Regions from separate parts of the Homo sapiens genome. Here regions 1 and 3 are each linked to region 2. The links are contacts of gene promoters, found by promoter capture Hi-C in blood cells and fetal thymus (Javierre and others, 2016). All regions are on one chromosome and are shown on one strand. Each heading gives the region's core, a stretch centred on a gene start or on the middle of the fragment in contact. The rest is flanking DNA. Distances are from core to core; before and after follow the strand shown. Region 1 holds the start of EXD2 (exonuclease 3'-5' domain containing 2). Region 2 overlaps SLC39A9 (solute carrier family 39 member 9). Region 3 holds the start of DCAF5 (DDB1 and CUL4 associated factor 5).

Evidence for each region. The method cuts DNA at HindIII sites, captures the fragments that hold promoters and counts their contacts. A CHiCAGO score of 5 or more calls a contact.
Region 1: the fragment with the promoter of EXD2 here is called in contact with a fragment that was not itself captured in region 2 in 4 of 17 cell types (endothelial precursors, megakaryocytes, erythroblasts and 1 more); the score reaches 6.6 in endothelial precursors.
Region 3: the fragment with the promoter of DCAF5 here is called in contact with a fragment that was not itself captured in region 2 in 1 of 17 cell types (megakaryocytes); the score reaches 6.8 in megakaryocytes.

The regions. Positions count from the first base shown.
Region 1 is chr14:69,189,403-69,193,158 of GRCh38, forward strand. It overlaps EXD2 (exonuclease 3'-5' domain containing 2), which reads left to right and starts at 2,096. Exons shown (of 10, transcript NM_001193360.2): 1 at 2,096-2,189. All of the region lies in intron 3 of GALNT16-AS1 (GALNT16 and EXD2 antisense RNA 1), which reads right to left. RefSeq lists a silencer at 2,317-2,506. The HindIII fragment of the contact is 2,229 bases long and covers 592-2,820 here.
Region 2 is chr14:69,457,539-69,461,482 of GRCh38, forward strand. It overlaps SLC39A9 (solute carrier family 39 member 9), which reads left to right. Exons shown (of 7, transcript NM_018375.5): 7 at 825-3,944. The coding sequence ends at 1,055. Among named protein-coding and RNA genes, the nearest start is that of PLEKHD1, 25 kb to the right of the region's middle. RefSeq lists a silencer at 2,750-2,799. The HindIII fragment of the contact is 585 bases long and covers 2,169-2,753 here.
Region 3 is chr14:69,151,514-69,155,585 of GRCh38, forward strand. It overlaps DCAF5 (DDB1 and CUL4 associated factor 5), which reads right to left and starts at 1,606. Exons shown (of 9, transcript NM_003861.3): 1 at 1,252-1,606. The coding sequence starts at 1,465. RefSeq lists silencers at 1-380, 541-590, 1,411-2,050. The HindIII fragment of the contact is 17,790 bases long and covers 1-4,072 here.

The DNA of each region.
Region 1 (3,756 bases), core at 846-3,345, 270 kb before region 2:
ACATGAGATATTTTGATACAAGCATACAATGTATCTGCCATTCTAATCTAATTTCTATCTTTTAAAATTGTATCTTTTTTTTTAGTTTGGTACTATGTCCTTTCCTGTTCTTTCTTCTTTGGGTTAACAAACTTTTCACTCCTTTACTATCATTTTTAAAAACCCTTTTATCGAAGTATATATGAAACCAGAAAAGTGCTCACAAATATAACCTGAACACACATGTAAAGCCGCACTCAGATTAAGAAATAGAACATTATCAGCACTTCGTGAACCTCCTCATGTTCCCTTCCAGTTATTACTACCCTAAGATTAATCATTATATACAGTGACTTCTAATAGCAGGGATATTTGGGTAGTTTCCCGTTTGGGGCTGTTGAAAGTATGGGTATGAGCTTTTTTTTGTACATGTCCTTTTGGTGAATACATGCAGACATTTCAGTTGCATATATATAACTAGGAGTAAAATTGTTTTTTGTTGTTTTTGTTTTCGAGACAGGGTCTAGCTCTGTCACCTATGCTGGACTGCAGTGGTGTGATCACAACTCACTGCAGCCTCAAACTCCAGGGATCAAGACGTCCTCCTGCCTAAGCTTCTGGAGTAGCTGGGACTACAGGTGCACACCATGATGCCCAGCACTTTGGGAGGCCGAGGTGGGAGGATCGCTTGAGGCCAGGAGTTCAAGACCAGCCTGGGCAACACAGTGAAAATCCCTAAAGTGCTGGGATGACACGTTGAGCCACTGTGCCCCAGCTAGGGGTGAAATTGTTGGAACAAAGTCTTTTCACATATTCAGATTCAGTTGATACCGCCAAACAGTTAAACAAAGTGATTGCATCAATTTATGTTCCCTTCAGGAGCATATGAGAGTTGTGGTTGCTCCACAATCTTGCCAATACTTGACATTTTCTTTTTCATTTAGCTATATCTCATTGTGGTTTTAATTTGCATTTCCTCTTTATCCTTTGTTTTTTAAGTGTTTCAAGATGGAGCAGATAAAAATTCAGGGAGTTAATCCTCTATAATAGCTGGAAATTTCCCCCATGGGTACTCATTCAATGGAATTTAAAACATTTGCCCCTGTATTGAAGGCAATATAGTATAAAGGATGGGGCCACATGCTCTGCAATCAGAAATATGAGGTTTGATTCCTAACTCCGGTGCTTACTTGCTGAATTACCTTGAGGAAGTTATTTAACCTTTTTCTATTTTATGTAAAACGGCACTAATAATAGTACTGCCTCACAGGGTTGTTATGGGGATTAAAGGAGAAAAAATAAGTAAAATGCTTTGCAAAGTTCCTAGCAACAGGTGAGCACAAAGTCAACAAATGGTAGCTATTATTATACCTTATATTGGTTATTTATGCACATCTCATTTCTCCTTCTGTTTTACACATTCCATGAGAAAGGAAAAGCATGCATGTAGCACAGATTAACTGCCTCACATATAATTGCTAATAAAGACTGATTGGATGAACGATTTAATATATAAACAAAAAGTATTGTGGTTATCGCTATAAAAGATGGCATAGGTTGGGCATTCACGCCTGTAATCCCAGCACTTTGGGAGGCCGAGTTGTGAGGTTCGCTTGAGCCCAGGAGTTCGAGACCAGCCTAGGCAATGTAGGGAGACAGTATCTACAAAAAAAAAAAAAAAAAAAAAAAAGGAGGGTACATAAAATTATTATAGTGGCTATAGGATAATGTGCACTGCTAATGAAGACTACATTATTTAAATACAGTGTCTTTCCTTCTATTTACTGTTATCGTTTAGCAGAAAAACAGTACGCAGGATACTAAAGAAGGAAAATTCGATGTCCCATATTACATTTGTGAGAGTTCTGGAGGTTTCTCCCTTCAAAGCCAAAACCAAAACACAAACATACCATCCCAGTAACAAATGCGTCACTTTTCTGAAGAAGACGTTAAGCCCTTCCAATTTTAACAGATCCTTTGTTCAACAGAGGAGAGAGACTGGGTAGGCATCACCTGCCCCAGTAGCTTCCGTACAAAATGGCGTTGCCCGTTCCCACACGCCAGCTGGGATTACGTCCTCCAGGCCTGTCGCAGGAACGGAAGTGGTTACGGCCCTAGTGAATCCGGGTGGGTGCGCGCAGGCGGCCGCACAGGTTCCAGGTCTTTAACGTGAGCCCGCTGCAGGTGTGCGGCCCAGTCCGAGACAGCAGGTAAGTGAGGCTCAGAAGCCGGCGAAGCCTTGCACCAGGATTGTGCGCGGGGCAGGGGGTGCTTCCAGTGCAGACTAAGAGGGGTCGTGGAGCGGGGGGATATTACCGTGTACGGGGGTGACATTGCGGGGCCCCCGCTGTCCCGGAGCGAGTTGGCCCTGCCCCTCTCCCCGCCCCTCGGCGTGACCCCCTCGCCCCCGTCGCACACGGCGGGGCGGTTCAGCACCCAGGTGCGCAAGGAGGGCCTCACCCCTGCCCGCGGCCTCCCACGCCCTCCTTGGGCCTCTCCTTTCGACCCCCTTACCCTCTCCCTGGGAGACTCTACCAGACCTTCGAGGCTGCGTGTCCCAGTCAGCTAAAAAGGAGGCCCCGCCCGCGGCACCTGGTAGCTCCTCGGGCGCTGCGGGTTCGACGCGGCAACAGCTGCTGTTTTCTCTCCTGGATTCGTGTGAGCCGCCACCCTCGCTACCATCCCTGTCCTCCCAGACCACACCCTGCTCTGGGCCTTGCCGGGAGCCACCTCTTTGGCTTTTCACATCCCTGGGATGGATCAAAACTAAGAACCTTAATCATTATTTATTACAAAATTGACATCTGCTCCTTAAAATACAAACAAACCAATCCCCCGATAAGCTTTTGATATGATTCCAACATTCAAACTCCTTTATATACCCTCTCCTCAAAAACACAAAATTGAAATTATACTTTATTTTCTTAGTTCTGTTCCAAGGATAGAAGGAATTGAAAGGTTTTGTTAATCATAGGAATTAGGAAGTGCGGGTTGGGGCGCAGCGGGGAAGATGGATTAAATTTGGTCAAGTTGAGCTTGTTTTAAAAATGTATTTTTAAAATATTCTAGTTATAGTCCGTGCATAAAGCCTTGTAACAAAATTATGTAAAAATTTTAAACACAGATCTTTCTTAGCTTGATGTTCTTGGTGGTGAGGGTGGGGAGTGTGGAAGACAGATCCTCTTTGATTTTGTTTTTTTCCATCTCCACCTTCTTTACCAGTCCCTTTCCCACAAAATAAGAACTGTTGTCAGTTTGTGTGTATTTTTCTTTGCATTTATTTGACAAGTATGTGTACGTATAAGATATATGTTTGTAAGATTTCGCTTTAAACTTTTACAAATATGCATGTTTTATGCATTACACAACTTGACGTTTTATGCTTAAAAACGGGTCTTGGAATTTTTTCTTTGTCAGTACCTAGAGATCTACCTATTCTTTCTACTTGCTCTGTAAATTCCATGGTTATGTAAGATTCCATAGATTGTTTCCAGTTTTTCATTGTTAGACACAGTATGGCGGAGAACATCCTTCCCACACACCTCTGTGAGAGCCCATGTGAGAGCATTTCTCAAGGATGGGTACCTGCAGGTGGAATTGCTGGGTGGGAGAGTATGGGGATTTAGGAATGCCAAACTGCCACCCACGGTGGATAATAATTTCCTCCATTCTCTCTCTCTTTTTTTTTTTTTTTTGAGACAGAGTCTTGCTCTGTTGCCCAGGTTGGAGTGCAGTGGCGTGATCTCAGCTCACTGCAGCCTCTGCCTCCCAGGTTCA
Region 2 (3,944 bases), core at 1,211-3,710:
TGCATCTTGATTACCACTGTATCTCAAGCACCTGGCCCAGAGCCTGGTGCATAGATGATGCTTGTTAAATATTAGTAGAATAAATAAATTTATGTCTGAAATTTAATATCTGCAATAATATATTGTTGATTCTATCTCAAGAATAATACAAGCCAAACCTGTTGAACCAGCACTTAAAGTTCGTTTTAAAAAGCAATTGTGAACCAGGAGCAGTGGCGCATACCTGTAGTCCCAGCTACTTGGGAAGCTGAGACAGGAGGATTGCTTGAGCCCAGGAGTTCCAGGCTGTAGTGTGTTATGATTGTGCCTGTGAATAGCCACTCAACTCCAGCCTGGGCAACATAGCGAGACCTCATCTCTAAAGACAGATACAGTCAATGAATGGATGGACAGAATGATGGAACTGTGGTGAATATAGTTTAATAATAGTGTGTGGTACATATCAAAATTGCTAAGAGTAAATTTCAGATGTTCTCACCACAAAATATGATAAATATTTGAGATGACAGATGTTAGTTTTATTTAATTAGTCCACATTTTATTCATGAATCATAATGTCACTTTATACCCTATAAATATATATAATTATAAATTGTTGATTTACAATAAATTTTTTAAAAAATCAATTGCGTACATCACTGATATTCTTAAACCCTTATTTGGAAGCTTCCCATGAATAACTTAAAGTTGCTGTGTTCTCTAGATGTCCCCAGTGTCCTAGACAGCACCAGTTAAGAACAGTGAGTGTTTTTTAACTGGGACTTCTTCCTGACCCTGAATTTTACTTGACTTAGTTTTTCCTCTTTCTCTCTTCTAATTCACAGAGCAGTAAAGAAGCCCTTTCAGAGGTGAACGCCACGGGAGTGGCCATGCTTTTCTCTGCCGGGACATTTCTTTATGTTGCCACAGTACATGTCCTCCCTGAGGTGGGCGGAATAGGGCACAGCCACAAGCCCGATGCCACGGGAGGGAGAGGCCTCAGCCGCCTGGAAGTGGCAGCCCTGGTTCTGGGTTGCCTCATCCCTCTCATCCTGTCAGTAGGACACCAGCATTAAATGTTCAAGGTCCAGCCTTGGTCCAGGGCCGTTTGCCATCCAGTGAGAACAGCCGGCACGTGACAGCTACTCACTTCCTCAGTCTCTTGTCTCACCTTGCGCATCTCTACATGTATTCCTAGAGTCCAGAGGGGAGGTGAGGTTAAAACCTGAGTAATGGAAAAGCTTTTAGAGTAGAAACACATTTACGTTGCAGTTAGCTATAGACATCCCATTGTGTTATCTTTTAAAAGGCCCTTGACATTTTGCGTTTTAATATTTCTCTTAACCCTATTCTCAGGGAAGATGGAATTTAGTTTTAAGGAAAAGAGGAGAACTTCATACTCACAATGAAATAGTGATTATGAAAATACAGTGTTCTGTAATTAAGCTATGTCTCTTTCTTCTTAGTTTAGAGGCTCTGCTACTTTATCCATTGATTTTTAACATGGTTCCCACCATGTAAGACTGGTGCTTTAGCATCTATGCCACATGCGTTGATGGAAGGTCATAGCACCCACTCACTTAGATGCTAAAGGTGATTCTAGTTAATCTGGGATTAGGGTCAGGAAAATGATAGCAAGACACATTGAAAGCTCTCTTTATACTCAAAAGAGATATCCATTGAAAAGGGATGTCTAGAGGGATTTAAACAGCTCCTTTGGCACGTGCCTCTCTGAATCCAGCCTGCCATTCCATCAAATGGAGCAGGAGAGGTGGGAGGAGCTTCTAAAGAGGTGACTGGTATTTTGTAGCATTCCTTGTCAAGTTCTCCTTTGCAGAATACCTGTCTCCACATTCCTAGAGAGGAGCCAAGTTCTAGTAGTTTCAGTTCTAGGCTTTCCTTCAAGAACAGTCAGATCACAAAGTGTCTTTGGAAATTAAGGGATATTAAATTTTAAGTGATTTTTGGATGGTTATTGATATCTTTGTAGTAGCTTTTTTTAAAAGACTACCAAAATGTATGGTTGTCCTTTTTTTTTGTTTTTTTTTTTTTTAATTATTTCTCTTAGCAGATCAGCAATCCCTCTAGGGACCTAAATACTAGGTCAGCTTTGGCGACACTGTGTCTTCTCACATAACCACCTGTAGCAAGATGGATCATAAATGAGAAGTGTTTGCCTATTGATTTAAAGCTTATTGGAATCATGTCTCTTGTCTCTTCGTCTTTTCTTTGCTTTTCTTCTAACTTTTCCCTCTAGCCTCTCCTCGCCACAATTTGCTGCTTACTGCTGGTGTTAATATTTGTGTGGGATGAATTCTTATCAGGACAACCACTTCTCGAACTGTAATAATGAAGATAATAATATCTTTATTCTTTATCCCCCTTCAAAGAAATTACCTTTGTGTCAAATGCCGCTTTGTTGAGCCCTTAAAATACCACCTCCTCATGTGTAAATTGACACAATCACTAATCTGGTAATTTAAACAATTGAGATAGCAAAAGTGTTTAACAGACTAGGATAATTTTTTTTTCATATTTGCCAAAATTTTTGTAAACCCTGTCTTGTCAAATAAGTGTATAATATTGTATTATTAATTTATTTTTACTTTCTATACCATTTCAAAACACATTACACTAAGGGGGAACCAAGACTAGTTTCTTCAGGGCAGTGGACGTAGTAGTTTGTAAAAACGTTTTCTATGACGCATAAGCTAGCATGCCTATGATTTATTTCCTTCATGAATTTGTCACTGGATCAGCAGCTGTGGAAATAAAGCTTGTGAGCCCTCTGCTGGCCACAGTGAGGAAAGTAGCACAAATAGGATACAGTTGTATGTAGTCATTGGCAACAATTGCATACAATTTTACTACCAAGAGAAGGTATAGTATGGAAAGTCCAAATGACTTCCTTGATTGGATGTTAACAGCTGACTGGTGTGAGACTTGAGGTTTCATCTAGTCCTTCAAAACTATATGGTTGCCTAGATTCTCTCTGGAAACTGACTTTGTCAAATAAATAGCAGATTGTAGTGTCTGGTTTGGTTTGGACAGTAGTGCTTTCTATCATATTGTTGTGTGCAATGGTAATTTGTTCTACTGGCCAAAGCCTCTTTCAGCAGTGCCTTGCCATCATGCTTAAAAGTTTGGCTAGTATATCTTGCTGGATGGAGCCTTGAACTCCGGCAAGGATTGAACCATCTGACTTCCAAATTTGCCTTCCCCTCTGGACCTCACTATTAACAAGCAAACCTTTCAGGGCCCTCTTAGCTCTCAGAAGCTATGTATGGGCTTTCCCAGATTTTAAAGCTGCTGCCTCGAGAACTACTCATTTCTCTCCTGGTCAGCAGACAGAAATAGCCATACTAATCTCATAGGGCTCAAATGCATCTTCAGGCAGCAGGGAACCAAGCAGCGTGGCACAGGCCTTCTTGACTGGAGGAAGAGCTTGCTGGCATGGTGGGCAGTATTCCAGGAGAGGCCATGTCCGTGTTCACTTCTTGGCACATTTCAGTTCCGTTTTCCTCTTGTTTAAAACTGCCTCTTTAGATGTGGATGCCTTAATGCTGTAACACATTTGAAAACATTGGCAATACTTAAGTTGCTGCCATGATTACAGATGGAATTATTGGCTACCAAAGAGACGCAATTGATGATGAGAAGCATGATTCTTGCTTCCATATAACCAAAGTTAATCTTAATTGCAATTTGACTCCGTTTCCTTGGTAGGGATAGACTTTCTTCAGATTCCAAGTGCTCTCTTAAATGGCAAATTAAGTTAAAGAATACTACTGCTCCATTCCCCTCACTTATTCTCCAGTTAATTGCTTGTCAGTTCCATTTCAAGAAAGCAGTGATGTTCCAGGTTTGATTCAGTTTTCCTGTGCACACTATTGCCAAATTTTTTTTTAGCAAAGATTCTGCACTGGAACGTAGACAGTTGGAAACAGTACTACCTACCTAGAGGT
Region 3 (4,072 bases), core at 356-2,855, 310 kb before region 2:
TTCCCCCTTCATCCCTCCCAATATAGGAAAAGGGACAGAAGAGGGCAGCAGCCAAGCAGGAACGCCCAATCAGCCGTCTTCACCCCCCCTCCCCTGAGCCAGGTTTCGGGGAGCCGCCCCCTAGCCCTCACGTAGGCCCATTCCCACCCGCCCCTGCCCTGGGCCCGCGACCCCAGGGAGGAGGGGACGACGGCGGCGAGCGCCCCCACCGGCAGCAGGCGCACCTCCCCAGGGGCAGCTGTCGCCGCGGCCCGCGGGGCCCGGGCCTCCCCGGGAGCAATAGGCTATCGATTCAGCTGCCTGTCGCTAGGAGCCCCGGGAGAGCGAGGCCTACACCGCCCGGCCGGAGCCCCGGCCTCGATTTCGCCACTTTCCCCAAACCAGAGGGAGAGCCCGGGGGCAACCAGGCCCGTCTGGGCGAGAGGGAGGAGAAGCAGAGACCACTTGCAACAGCGGCCGCGGGAAACGGGGTGCGGGGCGCCGGGCTCCCGCCAACAAGTCTCCCGGGGGTCCCCCACCCTACCGCCTGCCTCGCAAGTTGCGCATTCAAGTTCAGGCTGGTGCCCTTTAGCCTCCACAGCCCTCGCCACTCTCGAAACTGTATTAAAAACAAGACGCAGAAGAGGCCACAACCGAACGAAAGGCGATGGTGCTGGGCCTCTAAGAGCGCCGAGGGGGGCGGCCCACAGCGACCCTACCGCCCCAGTCACTTCCCCTCTGCAGACCCCGCCAGCCCCCGGGTCGCAGCCCCCGGCCCCTCGGCGTCCGGGTCTGTCACCGCCCGCTTCCCAGCCCCAAGACCCCTTTTCCTTAACGCCGGCGACGGGGGCTTCAGCTCCCCCTTGCCTCCGGCGCTCCTCGGCCTCCTCACCCTCCACATCCCCAAAATGCCCCCAGCACCTTTTAAAGTACGCGGAGGAAGAGTTTGCCGTCAAACTTTGTAGAGCGGTAACCTCGCCCCCCTCCCCGACCTACACTTTCAGGGCAGGCATCAGGAGAGATCACTTTGCACTTGGGATAAAGCGAATTAAGGAGCTGTCAACCATTTTAGGTCTTTTTTATAGAAGACATCCTCTCCTTCCCCTCCCCCTGCAATGGTTTTAATTTGACACCAAACCTTCCCACCGCAGAAGGGGGTAGAGAAAGGGAGGGGGTGGGGACAGAGGGCAGGAGGAGGGTGACGGGGGAGAGCGAGAGGGGGAGGCTGGGAGGGTGCGGGGAGGCGCGGGGAGGGGAAGGGGGTTGATTTACCTGAGACCAGCCACTGGCCTCCATTGTTGGAGAATTCAATGGCATTGACACAGCCGAAGTGGCCGAGGAGGTCCTTCTTGTAGAGGTTTCTGCAGCCCCGCAGGCGTCTCCTCTGAAAGTCCTGAGTGAGCAGGGGGTCCCCATGCAAGCCCCGCTGGGACAAGAAGCCCACCACTGACCTCATGCTGCCCCCCAGGCCAGCTCTCCTCTTCATGCTGGAACCGCCGCCGCCGCCGCTCGCGCCGCCGCCCCTCCCTCGGCCTCACGCGCGGCCGCTGCTCCCCCCACCCGGCCCTCCCCCCGCGCTGCGATCCGGATGGTTCTTTAACCAGCCATGGCAGGCAGAGCGAGGTGTGCAGACACTCGGCGGCGTTCGCGGCTTCCTGACGGTCCCCTCCCTCTCCTTCCCCCCGAGGCTCCTCCCTCTGCCTCTCCGCCTCCTCCAGCAGCTGATCCTCAGCTGCCGCCGCGCTTCCGCGATGCGCGGCCCTTCCGCCGGCTGCGGGGCCCCGAGAACGCGGCGTCGGCGCCCCTCCCCTCCGCGGGGGGCTGGCCGGAAGAACGCGGGCGGCCGGCCCGGAGACCACGGGCGCCGGCTGCTTTCCCAGTTGAGCCGCTTCCCGCCTGGGGACCTGGGTGGCGCCGGGCGGAGACCCCTCTGCACCCCAGCGCCCCGCACTCCGCGGAGTTGAATGCGCGTAACAATCCGAGTGGCCGCCGGGCTTTGGCTCGCCTTCCTCCCGCGGGGACCCGCGGGCCGGCTGCTGCCCGGAGGCCAGCGCCCGTACGAGTTCGGGGAAAATGCGGCTGGAGTGGGGGAAGGTGCGGGCGGGGGCTCCGGCCCTCCTTCCTCTGCTGGCCTCTGCCTTGGGCAGTCCGGCCCTGCCCGAGGCGGGGGAACCGGGAGGTAGGGCCGCACACTTGGAGGAACGTTGCCTGGGGGTTTTGTTCGCGCACCCGCCCCTTCCCCTCTCCCGGTAAATGTTTAACACCACCGCTCATCCCCAAGTCCAGTTCTCTAACTCTTCCTTCCTCCGGTCCTTTAGTTGAAAAAGGCTAAATTGTTCCGTCTGGCAGATTAGAGTGGTACATGGGGGGAAAGAGAAAGGGATAAAGAAGTAGGAAGAAAATTGCCAAAACCGAGTTGATGAAGTCCCGAGAAGCACGAGGTACTTCTCTCCGTTCCAGATAAATTTGCACGACACAAGAAGCGTGATTTGAAACTAACGATATATGTTATTTAATTGGGTTCGGTGAGCTCCTCTTAAAGGTCTCGAGTGGGGAGCACTGAGGTTGGACAGCTGTTAACCAGCAGCTGCGCTCCAGGCCAGAAGTGGCTGCACTTCAGTAGGATGGGAGTCACCGCGTTGACCCTAGTGGGTGTTAAATGCTTTGGAATTCTACCAGATACAGTTAAAAGTCCCCTTTTCGATGTATTATAGTACTTTTCCTGGAAGCTATCCTCTGTCATTAAGTGGTAATAAGCTACTGAAATAGGCACTTGTCAGTTTTGCCCTTTCAAGTTAGCAGGAATTACATCCTCTGGACCAGAGATGGCACAGGAGCAGTTGAGTAGAATCATCATTGAAAGATGGGCTGTACATCTCTGATCTGGGGAAAATAATAATAATTTTTTTTAAAAAAAAAGATCGGCTGAACATGGAAGAGGTTTACCCGTCAAACAAAATTATTTACTTCTACTTTTTGTTCAGTGACAATACGATTAATCGTACTAATAACAAATATGCAAATGTTTCATATAAAAGTACATATTCTAGCAAACATTACTAAACAGAAACCAAATTCCATCAGAACTTGGGGAAAAGGGCAAAAAATAAATAAATTTTTAAAAGAAAGAAATCAAATTCCAAAAATGTGAATTTTAATGGAATATTGTTCCCCTAAATAGGAAACTATGTGGTACTTAAAAGGTTTTATCCTCAGGATGCCTTCTAATAATCCTTTGTGTTTATTCATTATAATCACCACCTAAAAATTAGTAGCAGTATACCAGCTTTATTAAAGATGTATAGCACCAAACATCCTTCTGTCATTGCAATGTCAAAATGTGTAATTAATCATTTATTTTTGTGATGATATGAGTCTCCCCACTCTGCTGTAAGTTCTCTGAGAGCAGGGACTACGTCTGTTCTGCTCAAGGGTGTATGCCTGGAGCCAGTACTTGCTGGCACTAGTGGCCGCTTTAATACTTGCTGAATTCATGAATGTACTTAGGGAGTGGGGAGGAGTTTGAAGGGAAAGGTCGTGCTTTCCGGTTTGGATATGTTGAGTTTGACCTGTTTCATTCCAGTGGAATCCACTTGTTCCAAGGCCAGTTTCCCTGCTCACTGTTCCTTTGCTTGGCATACTCAGTCCACACATTCAAAACCCCCTCTAACTTCTTCCAGTTAATAGGCCATCATTTATACCTATTTGCCTGGGGTGGGGGAGATTTGTTCGAAGTGGCCTTTACTGTGGCAGTGTATAATACGCATCCTCCTCTGCCCTCTTAAGCACATACCCCCTTTACAGTTTTTACTGAATTCCTGGGAAAATTGTCCCATTTACCTCAGCATAAAAATAGACCAGCATCTGGTCACATGCCAGCCCAAATCTAGGACTTTGCTGGAAACTTCCTTAACTGTTGGGTGACCAACAGTGACAGAAAGGTAGGACCACCTAGTCTGTTTATATCCTACTGCTAGTCTGGCCAGATTTTTATAAGCCTGAATGAAATATCTTCCTATTCCTATAATTAAGAGTTGTCGGATAAAATGGAGGATACCCAATTTGGTATGAATTTCAGATAAACAATGAATGT